Regions from separate parts of the Homo sapiens genome. Here region 2 is linked to region 1. The links are contacts of gene promoters, found by promoter capture Hi-C in blood cells and fetal thymus (Javierre and others, 2016). All regions are on one chromosome and are shown on one strand. The core of a region is centred on a gene start or on the middle of the fragment in contact, and the rest is flanking DNA. Distances in the headings are between cores, read along the strand shown.

Region 1 (5,873 bases), core at 1,791-4,290:
CTGTGTTTTCATGCTATTTTGGTTGCTTTCCAGGGTCTTTGAAAAGAATCTCTTCCTTGTCCAGAGTTTATAGTTGTTATTTGCAACAGGGTCTGTCCAACATAAGCTACTGTGTCACTTCCAGAAGCTAGAAGTCCCTCTTTTATTTTTTGATTATTATCTTTGAAAAGTATGGAATCTTCCTGGATCAACTATTTTCAGCAGATTCATGCAGCATTTAAGTCAAAGCCATATCCCAGCAATTTTTCTGTGTGACACAGGATTTTATAGACAGTCTAGGTAAGAGATAATAAGTAGTAGCAATAAAGGTAGTGACAAGTGGTCAAATTCCATTTTCTTTTATTAACTATTTTATGTGCCAATATTCTGTTGTTAGAGAGTTCAGACAAGCTATAAGAAACTAAATTATCTTTTCTCTTTCGGCATTTCTCAAAACTTTTAAAATCAAAAGAATGGCATGTATTTTTAGTGACAGAAAAATATGCTTTGACAAATTGTTCTTTATTTCCTGTTTCCAAAAAGAGCTTACGGTTGTCTGGTGCAAGCATCATAGACATTGCAGATTTCTGGCTACATTTCTATCCCCTCTCTTCCATGCACAGCCCAAGTTCAGCTAAATTGTCTGACAAAAATTTTCATAGATGCTATGTAGAGAATTGCTGAAAGGAAGATGAGTGGAATCTGTGAGAACAGAGTCACCTCCAGTGCCTAAATAAGAAATGATTTCTGTAAAGAATATCTAGGAAGAAAATCAATAAATTGTTCACGATTGATTAGTCTGCAGGGAGTAATGTGGATGAACTTAAGTTTCTGGCTTGTGCAATGAAATGGATGGTGTTGTCAAGCCCTGAGACAGGAAACAGTAGATATAAGAGAGGAAAACATATACGATTTTCAGCTTTGGAGTATGAGATGTCCTTGAGATTTTTATTTAGAGGCACCTATCTAATCTCCATCTGCAGTATTGCCTCCATTTTTTTCTACATCATATGCATCTTATCATAGTGTAACTATGAATTTTTTAACTCCCATTTTTAATAACTAACGTTTCCCAGAAAATAAAGCAAACAAAAGGGAGCAAATTCTTAGTCTGGCATTTGAAGTATTCCACACTCTGGCTCTTTTTTTTTTTTTTTTTTAACTTTTCAACCTTATTGGCCATTATTCTCTACAAGATGGTGGTTTATAGTTTCTACATAATTAGGAAACACAGACAGTTACAGAGAAGGCCTAGTGAAATTCCATTAAGGCAAAGGTAGTAAGCAGAATATTGTGATTTGTTTGCTTAAAACCTTGAGATGAAAAGCAAAGTGAGTAAAAGACTAGATGACCAGGCACGCTGGTTCACGCCTGTAATCCCTGCACTTTGGGAGACCGAGGCGGGTGGATCACCTGAGGTCAGGAGTTCGAGACCAGCCTGGCTAACGTGGTGAAATCCTGTCTTTACTAAAAAATAAGCCGAGGCTGGGCACGGTGGCTCACGCCTGTTATCCCAGCACTTTGGGAGGCCGAGGCGGGTGGATCACGAGGTCAGGAGATAGAGACCATCCCGGCTAACACAGTGAAACCCCGTCTCTACTAGAAATACAAAAAAATTAGCCAGGCGTGGTGGCAGGAGCCTGTAGTCCCAGCTACTTGGGAGGCTGAGGCAGGAGAATGCTGTGAACCCAGGAGGCGGGGCTTGCAGTGAGCCGAAATCACACCACTACACTCCAGCCTGGGTGACAGAACGAGACTCAGTCTCAAAAACAAAAAAAAAAATCAGCTGATCAGCTGGGCGTGGTGGCACACGCCTGTAATCCCAGCTACTCTGGAGGCTGAAGCAGGAGAATCGCTTGAACCTGGAAGGCAGAAGTTGCAATGAGCTGAGATCAGGCCATTGCACTCCAGCCTGGCCGACGAGAGCAAAACTCTGTCTAAAAAATAAAAAATAAAAATAAAAAAAAGACTAGGAATTTTCCTTCTTGTACACCTTCGTGAAAATAAGTCTTTCTATTTGTGCAAGTTTAGAAACTGCAATTACAGACTTCTTGGCACTATGGAGCCTAATGGTCAAGCAACCCTGCAATGGAGAGACAGTATAAAAATTATCTGGACAATGCAACACTTTATCACTTGTTCAGAAATTTGAGAGGATGAGAATAATTAAGATTTCTGATAATGTGTTATGATCATGTATTTATTGCTACAGTTAGTTATATATTTTTTGGCACAATGTTTACCTGCTAATCTTAATGGAGTTAAGATAAAATTCAATTGTAGGCATTTTTCCCTTCTATTGGGTTAATTAGTCCAAGCGAACTGAGCAAAGGTTGCAGGGAGCCCCAGCATGGCTGAGGAAGACCTGGTGAGGCATCCACTGGCTGCTGGGAGGAGAGCATTAGAGGTACCTTCTGAACAGCACTGTCCAATAGAAATATAATGCAAGCCACATATATAATTCTAAATTTTCTAGTATTTATACTTAAAAAGCAAGAAGAAATAAGATGACTTTCACCCAACACTGCTTCCAAATAAGCAGTACTCTGGAGAACACGAGAAATCCTCAGAAAAATAAGCTGCAGCTCTGAGGTGCTGATTATGGTAGGGCAATCAATACAGATCAAAACATGGCACAGGGAGCTTAAGTTCCTAGGGAGAGTAGAAAATCGATAGAGCCAAGAAATAGCTCACCTTTGACTTATTTTTAACCTGAGTAGCTATCATATGCCAAGAGCTGTGCAGTTTTCATTTACCCCATGCCAAGAACGTAAGTAGGCTCTACTGACCAGGAAGTTAAGTAATATGCCCGAGGTACGTTTTCAATGGAAGAGGCTGACTGAGGGTCACCCAACTTATATCTCGAAATTTCACAATTTCTACAAGTTCTGTCCTGGGAGGCAAGAGTAGGTGAAACGAGCACACTCTACGCCAGGCAAACAAACCTCAACGCTTAGCCTCCCGGCACCTCCTAGGGCCGGAAGCTTCTCAGCCCAAAGCCGCTGCTGGCTGCAACCTCCGTCCCGCAGTCCAATTAGCAGCCGCGACCCGGCGCCCGCCCACGCCGCGTCACGAGTCAGCCAAAGATGGCTGCGCCCAGGTAATTTGAGCAAAGGCCACAGTGAACTCCGGCGTGGCTGAGGAAGGAGGAGGCACCCACAGGCTGCTGGGAGGAGAGCATAAGGTACTGGTATTCCGGGGGAGGGGGTGAAGTAAATGTCCCGGTGTCAGGAGAAGCACGACGCGGTGACACGCTAGCTACCAGCAGCGCTGCGCGTAAATGAGAGCAAGTAGAAGTGTAGTTAGCTCTTCCTGCTGTCTTTTCACTTTGCACTCTAGAAGGAAAGACCTTATATTTAAATTAACTCAGTAGAAAGGAGAAATGCCTGAGATTGAATTTAATCCCAGGTTTACTGTCAATTTACAAGGTGACCACGGCCAAATTTGATTTTCAGAGGTCCCACTTTACTTCTCTTTCAGATAGGCCCCACACTGCCTATCTCTCAGAGCTCTTCCAAGAATGACATGAGATAGGTAACACAAAAATCTTTCGAAATATTTGTAGTTTTTACAGGCGGCGTTGTCTTTGATAGATATTTGTTATTAATATCGGAGACAAAATGCCCACAGGGGCTGCCCAGTCAGCACTTATACTGAATTGAGTGACTTAATTGCCCTCAGTACAATATATACATACTAAATTTGATTATATATTTCACCACCCCATACACAAAATCATTCAGAGCTCCTGTACAGCAGAGATTGTGTCTTATCATCTTATCGTAGCCAAGGCCCTCAAAAATTTGACTACCAGAAACCTAGACATAAATTTCTAAGGCTGCTTTGTACTTATTAGGTTAGCTTTAAGTCTAGAGATATGGAATGTCAAGGTAATCAACATTTCCAAATGACCTCTTATCGATATAAAACAGGTAGCAATAAATATTTAAACGAGTGCCTGTAATGTTGTAGGAAATGAGAAAATCTGGTTTCATAAAAGCATGTTTTCCTTTGTTGTTATCCCTGAACTGTTTTTTTTTTTTTTTTTGTAGACCGAGTCTCGCTCTCACCCAGGCTGGAGTGCAGTGGCGAGATCTCGGCACACTGCAACCTCCACCTCCCAGGTTCAAGCGATTCTCCTGCCTCAGCCTCCCGAGTAGCTGGGATTACAGGCAGCTGCCGCCGTGCCTGGCTAATTTTTGTATTTTTAAAAGACAGGGAGTTTCACCATGTTGGCCAGGCTGGTCTCGAACTCCTGACCTCAGGTGATCCGTCTGCCTTGGCCTCCCAAGGTGCTGGGATTACAGGCGTGAGCCACTGCATCCAGCCTTTGTTTTTCTTAACTGTTACCCTGAAACCTGAGCCAAATCTTCATCATTCACCATTCCCTTCACATTTTCACCCTAACTAGTGCAGACATCAACAAACTACTGGCATGTAGGCCATATGCAGCCTATAGCTTGCCTTGGTACAGCCACCCAGCTAAGAATGATTTTTATGTTTTTATAGTTTTTTTAAAAACAAATATTCAACAAAGGCTGTATGTTACCTGCAAAGCCTACCACATTTACATCTGGCCCTTTAAAGTTTGCTGAGCCCTGATCTCAGGTATACCTAGAAATGAAATTGCTAGCTATGTGTGTCTTCTATCTGCTAAATAATACCAAATTCTTTCCCAAAGTGACTGTACAGTTTGGGTAAAGCTACCCCACAGAATGTACACAGAATGTAGTTTTAGCTACCCCGCATTCTTGCCAATAATTGGAATTGTCAGATTTTGATTTTAGCTAACCTATGGGTACCTATTGGTATCTCACTGTGGGTTGTTCCCCCAGTTATAATGAAGGTGAGCATATTTTCATGTTTATTGGCCATTTAACTTTCCTTTTTGTGAAGTGCCTGTTCAAATATTTTGTCAGTTTTTCCGTAGGGCTGCTTACCTTTTTCATGTTGATATGTAGTTCCATGTATGTTCTGGGTACTAACTACTCTTTTGTCAGTTCTATTGCATTTTCTCCCCCACTAGCTTATCTTTATGGTATATGTTGATAACCATAGGTTCTTAACTTCAATACTGTTAGTTTTATAAGTCTTTTATGTTTAGTGCTATTTGTGAATTGTTTAGGAAATACTTTCAAGGATTATGAAGATATTCTGTATTTCCTAAAAGCTTTATGTGTTGCTTTTCATGTTCTGGTTTCTGTTTCACTTAGATTTTTTTTTAATAATATGTATGCAATGATTTTTTTCAGATTAGCTCTACAGTATTATTTTTAGTCTTCAGAAGGTTTTTAAAATTCTTTGTATAAATTCTTGAGAAATGATATCTTCATGTTTTTTAAGGCTCAAAATGGAAAATCATAAATCCAATAATAAGGAAAACATAACAATTGTTGATATATCCAGAAAAATTAACCAGCTTCCAGAAGCAGAAAGGTAAGATCCCTTCTTAATTTAAAAACACCTTTTATCAGGTGGATTTTCACCATTGATTCATTATCTCAAGTTTATCTGGTTTGAGTATAAACAACATGGAATGTGAGAAGGAAATTGCCCTTTTCTTGCCTGGATGAGAGCGTTTAACCATTTTGCTCAACATCACATAGCTAATTGTGGAAGGTGAGGCTGGAACTCATGTCTTTGGACATACCTAATTGTATAATGTTTTGAGTTTTTCCATTAGGCTTGGAGTATAGTAAAATGTAAACATTTACAGACCCATTTAAATAACAAAACTTTAACTTTTAAAATGTCTTTTTTTTCCCAGTTCATTCTGTCAGTATGCTTACCAGTCTAAGAGTACCATAGAACACACATAGCAAGATAGAGAATGTCAGAGAAATAGGATCATGGCTAAAGATCTTTAAGATATTATTAAAGAGGGCCAGGCATGG
Region 2 (5,873 bases), core at 3,374-5,873, 2.7 Mb before region 1:
GGGCCACTGTGACAAAGGTGGGAAAGGGGAACCTAGAACAGCAATTGAAAGTGGAACTATAAAGGATGTACATAAATTTAAATAGCTTAGCCCACTGATGTGATCCCCTCACAGCAAATGAGGAAGGAGCTGCAGAAGTCAGTGACCATGAGCTCAATGCTGGGCCAACACACAGACTTGTAACAGAAACAATGATCAGCAGTTAAATAGGAATAGCTGGGTACTAAGTTTTCAGAAGAGGCATTACCACTATTGTCATGCATTTGGATGAGAGTGTATTTTCAGGACAGAGTTGTGAAGGAACTAGCACTTGTTCCATCAAGTTGTTTAAACTCCTACCATGTTTTATGCACCATCCATGTGGCTTTCATTTGTTACGACACTGAACTCTGACAACAACCTTGGTGGATGTGATGATTAATTTTATATGCCAACTTTATAGGCCATGGTGCCCGGCTATTTAGTCAAATATCATTCTAGATGTTTTTGTGAAGGTATTTTTTGGATGAGATTAACATTTATATCAGCGGACTTTAAATCAGTGGACTTTACCCTCCATAATTTGGGTGGGCCTTATCTAATCAGTTTAAGGCCTTAATAGAACAAAGTTTGACTTCCCCTCACTTTGGGAGGCCAAGGTGGGTGGATCACTTGAGGTCAGGAATTCAAGACCAGCCTGGCCAACATGGTAAAACCCTGTCTGTATTTTAAAAACTGCAAAAATTAGCCAGGCGTGGTGGCGGGCACCTGTAATCCTAGCTACTCGGGAGGCTAAGGCAGGGGAATCACTTGAACCCAGGAGGCAGATGTTGCAGTGAGCCGAGATCTCACCACTGCACCCCAGCCTGGGCAACAGAGCGAGACTCCAACTCAAAAAAAAAAAAAAAAAAAAAAAAGACTGACTTCCCCTAAGCAAGAAGAAATTCTGCCAGCAGAATGCCTGGGCATCCAAACTGCAACTCTTCCCTGGGTTTCCAGCCTCCAACCTACCCTGAAGATTTTGGACTTACTAAGCCTCCACAATTGCATGAGCCAATTCCTTAATAAAAATCTCTCTCATAGAGAGAGAAACACACAGACACACACCCTAATACAATAGATATTGCTCCCAATTTTACCACTGAGAAAAATGATGGCCTGACAGGACCCATTCTCCCTCTTCACTACATCACACACTAAAATGTGTGATTTGGGACTCACATTCTAGCCTGAGGGGCTCAGGTGGGAGGTACAAGGTAATAAGCATGCAACATTGTAACCACAAGCCACATATTCCAGAGAGCCCTTTATGACACTGATACCACACATACTACACATGTACCCAGAGCCTCGATGTGCCCAAGTGATGTACTATCCTCTCTCTGGTCTCCTAATTCAGTTATTTCAGGTAAAAGAAATCAAATAGTCCTACCTAACTCAATATTTGAAGACCTTGAAAAAGGAGGAAAAAATAATTAGTAAAGAATTAAAGTAAAAGATAAAAAGAAAAATAAAAAATGATTTGTGACAATTAAATGATGGTAGCCTTTGCTTTGTTTAGGTTCTTTTTGAATAATCATGCATTCACTCTTTCAACAACTATTTATTTTGTGCTTTATACTTTTTTATAGGCTCTTCTAGGTATTGTAGAGTACTAACGAGCTGGAGGGACACATACAATATAGTAAATGTGCAGGATGAAAAAAGACCAACTAAATTTCCTTAAAGAAGTCAAAGATTCGCAGAAGAGGTGAGACATTTCTGCTGGAATAGAATTATGAGTTTAAATAGTGGGGAAGAGGGATGGTATTCCAGACAGAATTTCTGACACAGTAAAAGTCACTTGAGTCTGTTAGGTTGCTAAAAGTGGGAGCTGGGATGGGGAATTATGGCAGAATATAAAGTTGGAACGACCAGCTAGGGTTACATAGTAAGGAACAATGGATTCCCATGCCAAGGTGTTTGGCCTTTATCCTGCAATCAGAGTTATGAAGAATTTCTAAGCAGGGGAGGGATAAGACCATGGGCTAAGCCTTCTTAGAGACCACTCCATAAAACCACATCCTTTATATACATAGAAGGACAGCTGGGTCCAGCTTGGTCACTGGGGCAGATATAACCACAGGTAAATCATTATAAAGTTTAATAAAAATTAAACCTTGAATAAAAAACTAAGCCTTACAGTTTTAATAATAAGTTTATTACTAGAAGGCATCAAAGTATTTCATGTGCTCTAACTTAAAAACTTAAAGTTGAGTTCACACATAGTCCTAACTAAAAATCAATGGTTCAGAAATTGGCAACTAGTATAATTATAATTATGCAATAAATACATATGTAAAAGTTTTCCTCAGAAAATGAAATAAAACTCAATTGGAATAGACAGAAGAAAAATTATTATTATGGTAATAAATACATACGTGGAATCTGTATCCTAAAATATAAATTAAATATAAGCCAGTGGACAAAATGTGGCTGAGTAAAGCTGGACTTTGCATATCATCAAAAATGGAAAAAGAAACAGTGTTGAATTATATTTCTAAGGAGTGTAGTGGCCAAGAAAAGAATCTACAATAAAGGAACATAAATTAGGAACTAAGGTACTAACAACTCATTTGTTCCCTTCCTCTTTTCTGCTGATAGTTCTCTTTTTCATCAATCCCAATGGGATTTTAGAGATCTCCCAATCCAATAGTCCTCCCCACCGTTTTACTTTAGCAGTTGAGTTCTGCAAATAGTTGTATATAAAATCCCAGCATATAAAACAGGTAAAAGCTGAAAGAGATCCAAGAGAGGGTACTAGAGCACCTAATTTGGCCTCCACTTCAGCCTTCATCCACTTTCCCTCTGAAACAGCTCCCCAAAGAGCCCTTAATTTTCCTCAGTAAAGTGTAAAACACATTGGTCCTTGTCCCAACCCTCCTAATTTACAAATGAGGGAATTATGCCCTAGAGAATTAATTTAAGGGAGTTGCCTGAGAAAAAAGATTATTTCCTAGTACCCCTGCTAAAATTAAAATGTTTTCTCTTCCTCATAAACTTGAACTCAAATGTCTGGGTTAAAAATTGTTTCTTGGCTGGGGACACAGTGGCACACGCCTGCAATCCCAGCCCTTTGGGAGGCCAAGACAGGGGCATCGCTTGAGCCCAGGAGTTCAAGACCAGCCTAGGCAAGATGACAAAATCCCATCTCTATTTTTAAAAATAAAAAAATTTTTAAATTATTTCTAAGTTATTCTGGAAGTCTATGACATCCCTCTACCACAAATTCCCATTCCAAATTCACATAAGGGCTGGGCTCAGTGGCTCACACCTGTAATCCCAACACTTTGGGAGGCTGATGCAGAAGGATTATTGAGCCCACAAGTTCAAGACTAGCCTGGGCAACATAGTGAGCCTTGTCTCTGCACAATTAACAACAACAAAATTTCACATAGGTCTATAACCACATATTATATGAGTGCCTACTTGAAGCCAGATACTCTGCTAAGAGTACGTTATCTGCTCTCATTCAACCATCACCACAAACCCCAAGAGATCAAGGAACTAGGCTCACAGAAGTACTGTAACCTGCCCAAGGTCACAGAGCTAGCAGGGTGGAATCCGGTTCTATCTGACTCCTAAAGCCAAGCTTCAGACCCTTGCACTCTTTCTAATCCCAACCTTTTCCAAATCTTTTCCTATTTTTACACAGGCTTTCAGAAATGCTGAACTGTAAGGATTACTTGTCATTTCACAGAGGATGTACTTTTCCATCAAGACCTGTGGGGGAATGCCTCATGCTGCAGCCAAGCACAAAGGCATCAAGCCCAAAAACCTCTAATTTCACGTTACAGACCATAGAAAGGCTAATCCCCACCCCCACCACAAACTCCTACAACTCCTTTTACAAGCATAGGCTACATACATTCAGTCTTATGGGGAATAGGGACTGTCAACAATTCTTAATAATAGGGCTACAAAATCAGCTCTGAGCTGACCCCTTCTGAGAGGCTGGCTTTTAGGATGGATAACTATCCAATATTTTCTAATAGGTAAAGATATTAAAATTTGTATTTAGGGCTGCCTTGGGGCAAAGGATGACTATCACCGCAGACTAGGTACCAGAGCTGGCATTTAATAATTTGAATTTGAGGGAAGGTCAAGGGAGTTCGGATTGGGGCACCCTCTGGGAGCAGAGGGAGTTGAAGTGACTGTCGTGTCCAATTACAGAAAAGCCTGAATCAAGAGTATGCAGCCAAAACTACTACCAAATTATTGGTAATGGGAGGAGAAAATTTAAACAGAACTGGGATTTGGGACCACCTTCTGGAAGATGTTAGCCAAAAACCGAACAGATCCTAGGCATCAAGGGGTGTGAATTTCGAGGTAGGCTCCGTTGCCCGGGCTCTGAGGGTCAGGGTTCCCGGCGGTTGGGCCTGGGACGGCGAAGCCCCCGCTCCCCCTTACCTTCTGTTGGAAGTAGAGAACCGAATAGTTCTTGGCTACAGCCGGGAGGGATGTGGGGTTGGTTGGCAAGTGTAGGCTGCCGAGGGCCCTTAAGGCCGGCCGGAGGGCTATGGTGGCCCAGGGCGCCAGAAAAGACAGAAGCAGGAGCAGGAGGGCTCGGCGGCCCATGGCTCAGGCTGGAGACTGCAGTGCGGGTGGGAGGGCGAAAAGGAGGCCAGCAGAAGCGCACAGGCTAAGCCCTGCCCAGCCTGCAGCTCCGCCCGCCGCAAAACAGCTCCTCCCAGGGGAAACCCAAAGCCAGCCAGCTCCTCAGAGACGCCGCCCAAGCCAGGTCACCACAGCCACTCCGCCCCCATCCCCGAGGACACCGCCTCCACTCCACTTTCCTCTCGTGCCATCTGCTCCTTAGCACTCACCTTCATTGCGGTCACACCCCAAGTCTGCCCTTATCATGCTAGGGCCTCTTCCTAACTCATCGCTGTAGCCCATGCTTTATCTATAGCGCCCCCGAAGCCCACCTGTCCTTCAGGTCACCCAATATCCCTACCATTATCATCACCACCAAACCCTGCCCTGGCCACCGCAATTCCATTGCGACACCTCCTGCCTTCCGCAAATCCTACGTAACGGCAATAACAGCTACCATGACAATTTATTGAAGGTTCACTACAGGCCAGTGTATCACGAGGCAGGGAGGCACACGCATCATCTCCTCTAACTAAATCGTCACAGCAATCTTGTGCGTCGTATATGATTGTTATTCCCATCTACAGATGTGGAAACTGAGGCTCAGAGAGGTGCGGGAACTTGCACTAGATCACTCAGCAGTGAGCGGAGCACGTCGTCGCAGACCGCTGGGTCCAGGTCCAAAGACTGTGCTCCTTGCACCCACCTCCATCTGGAGCCTAACCACTCCCTATGATACTCCGTTCTTGGGTCACCCCAAAACTGTGTTGCTCGCACAACCCATCCATTACACAGGTCGCCCCGGGTCCACATCGCCCCTAAATCCCGCCAGGTCCCGGTCCCTTCTTTCAAATAACGCCCCCTTTCTTCTCCGGCACCCGAAAACCCACTCCGCGCTCCACCCCCCTCCTGCCTCCTGCCACCGCCCCCTTCCTCCCTCCGCCCGTGGGTAGTGCTAGCCCCTAGGACAGCGCCGGGTCTGGCTTCCAAAGCTCCCTCAACCCTCTTCATCCAGCTTCCATTCCCTCTTTCAGTCACCCCGCCAGACCCCAGGGCGCTGCGGCTCACTCCACACTTTCCCGGGAACCCTACGCCCAGGAGGCTCAGCGAAGCTCCAAAACCAATTTTACGGACTGTACTACTGATCCACCTGTCGGGGAGAAAGACTCTACCCGCAGTTTGACGAAAATGGTCGTTTCCAGATGCTTGTAGGATTTCCTCGCTAAGCTCCACCCTCTGCGGCGCCTTCTTCTGATTGG

Evidence for each region. Contacts are between HindIII fragments. The CHiCAGO score rates a contact against its expected background, and 5 or more counts as called.
Region 2: the fragment with the promoter of PRCP here is called in contact with the fragment with the promoter of TMEM126A in region 1 in 1 of 17 cell types (erythroblasts); the score reaches 6.6 in erythroblasts.

What each region holds. Positions count from the first base shown.
Region 1 is chr11:85,644,927-85,650,799 of GRCh38, forward strand. It overlaps TMEM126A (transmembrane protein 126A), which reads left to right and starts at 3,041. Exons shown (of 5, transcript NM_032273.4): 1 at 3,041-3,163; 2 at 5,323-5,415. The coding sequence starts at 5,330. RefSeq lists enhancers at 2,802-2,851, 3,022-3,291. The HindIII fragment of the contact is 2,186 bases long and covers 2,962-5,147 here.
Region 2 is chr11:82,895,807-82,901,679 of GRCh38, forward strand. It overlaps PRCP (prolylcarboxypeptidase), which reads right to left and starts at 4,624. Exons shown (of 9, transcript NM_005040.4): 1 at 4,429-4,624. The coding sequence starts at 4,596. It overlaps LOC124902602, which reads right to left. Exons shown (of 2, transcript XM_047427953.1): 2 at 5,108-5,873. The coding sequence ends at 5,218. RefSeq lists enhancers at 4,350-4,399, 4,520-4,579, 4,730-4,829, 5,110-5,159 and silencers at 5,370-5,419, 5,470-5,559. The HindIII fragment of the contact is 4,585 bases long and covers 3,609-5,873 here.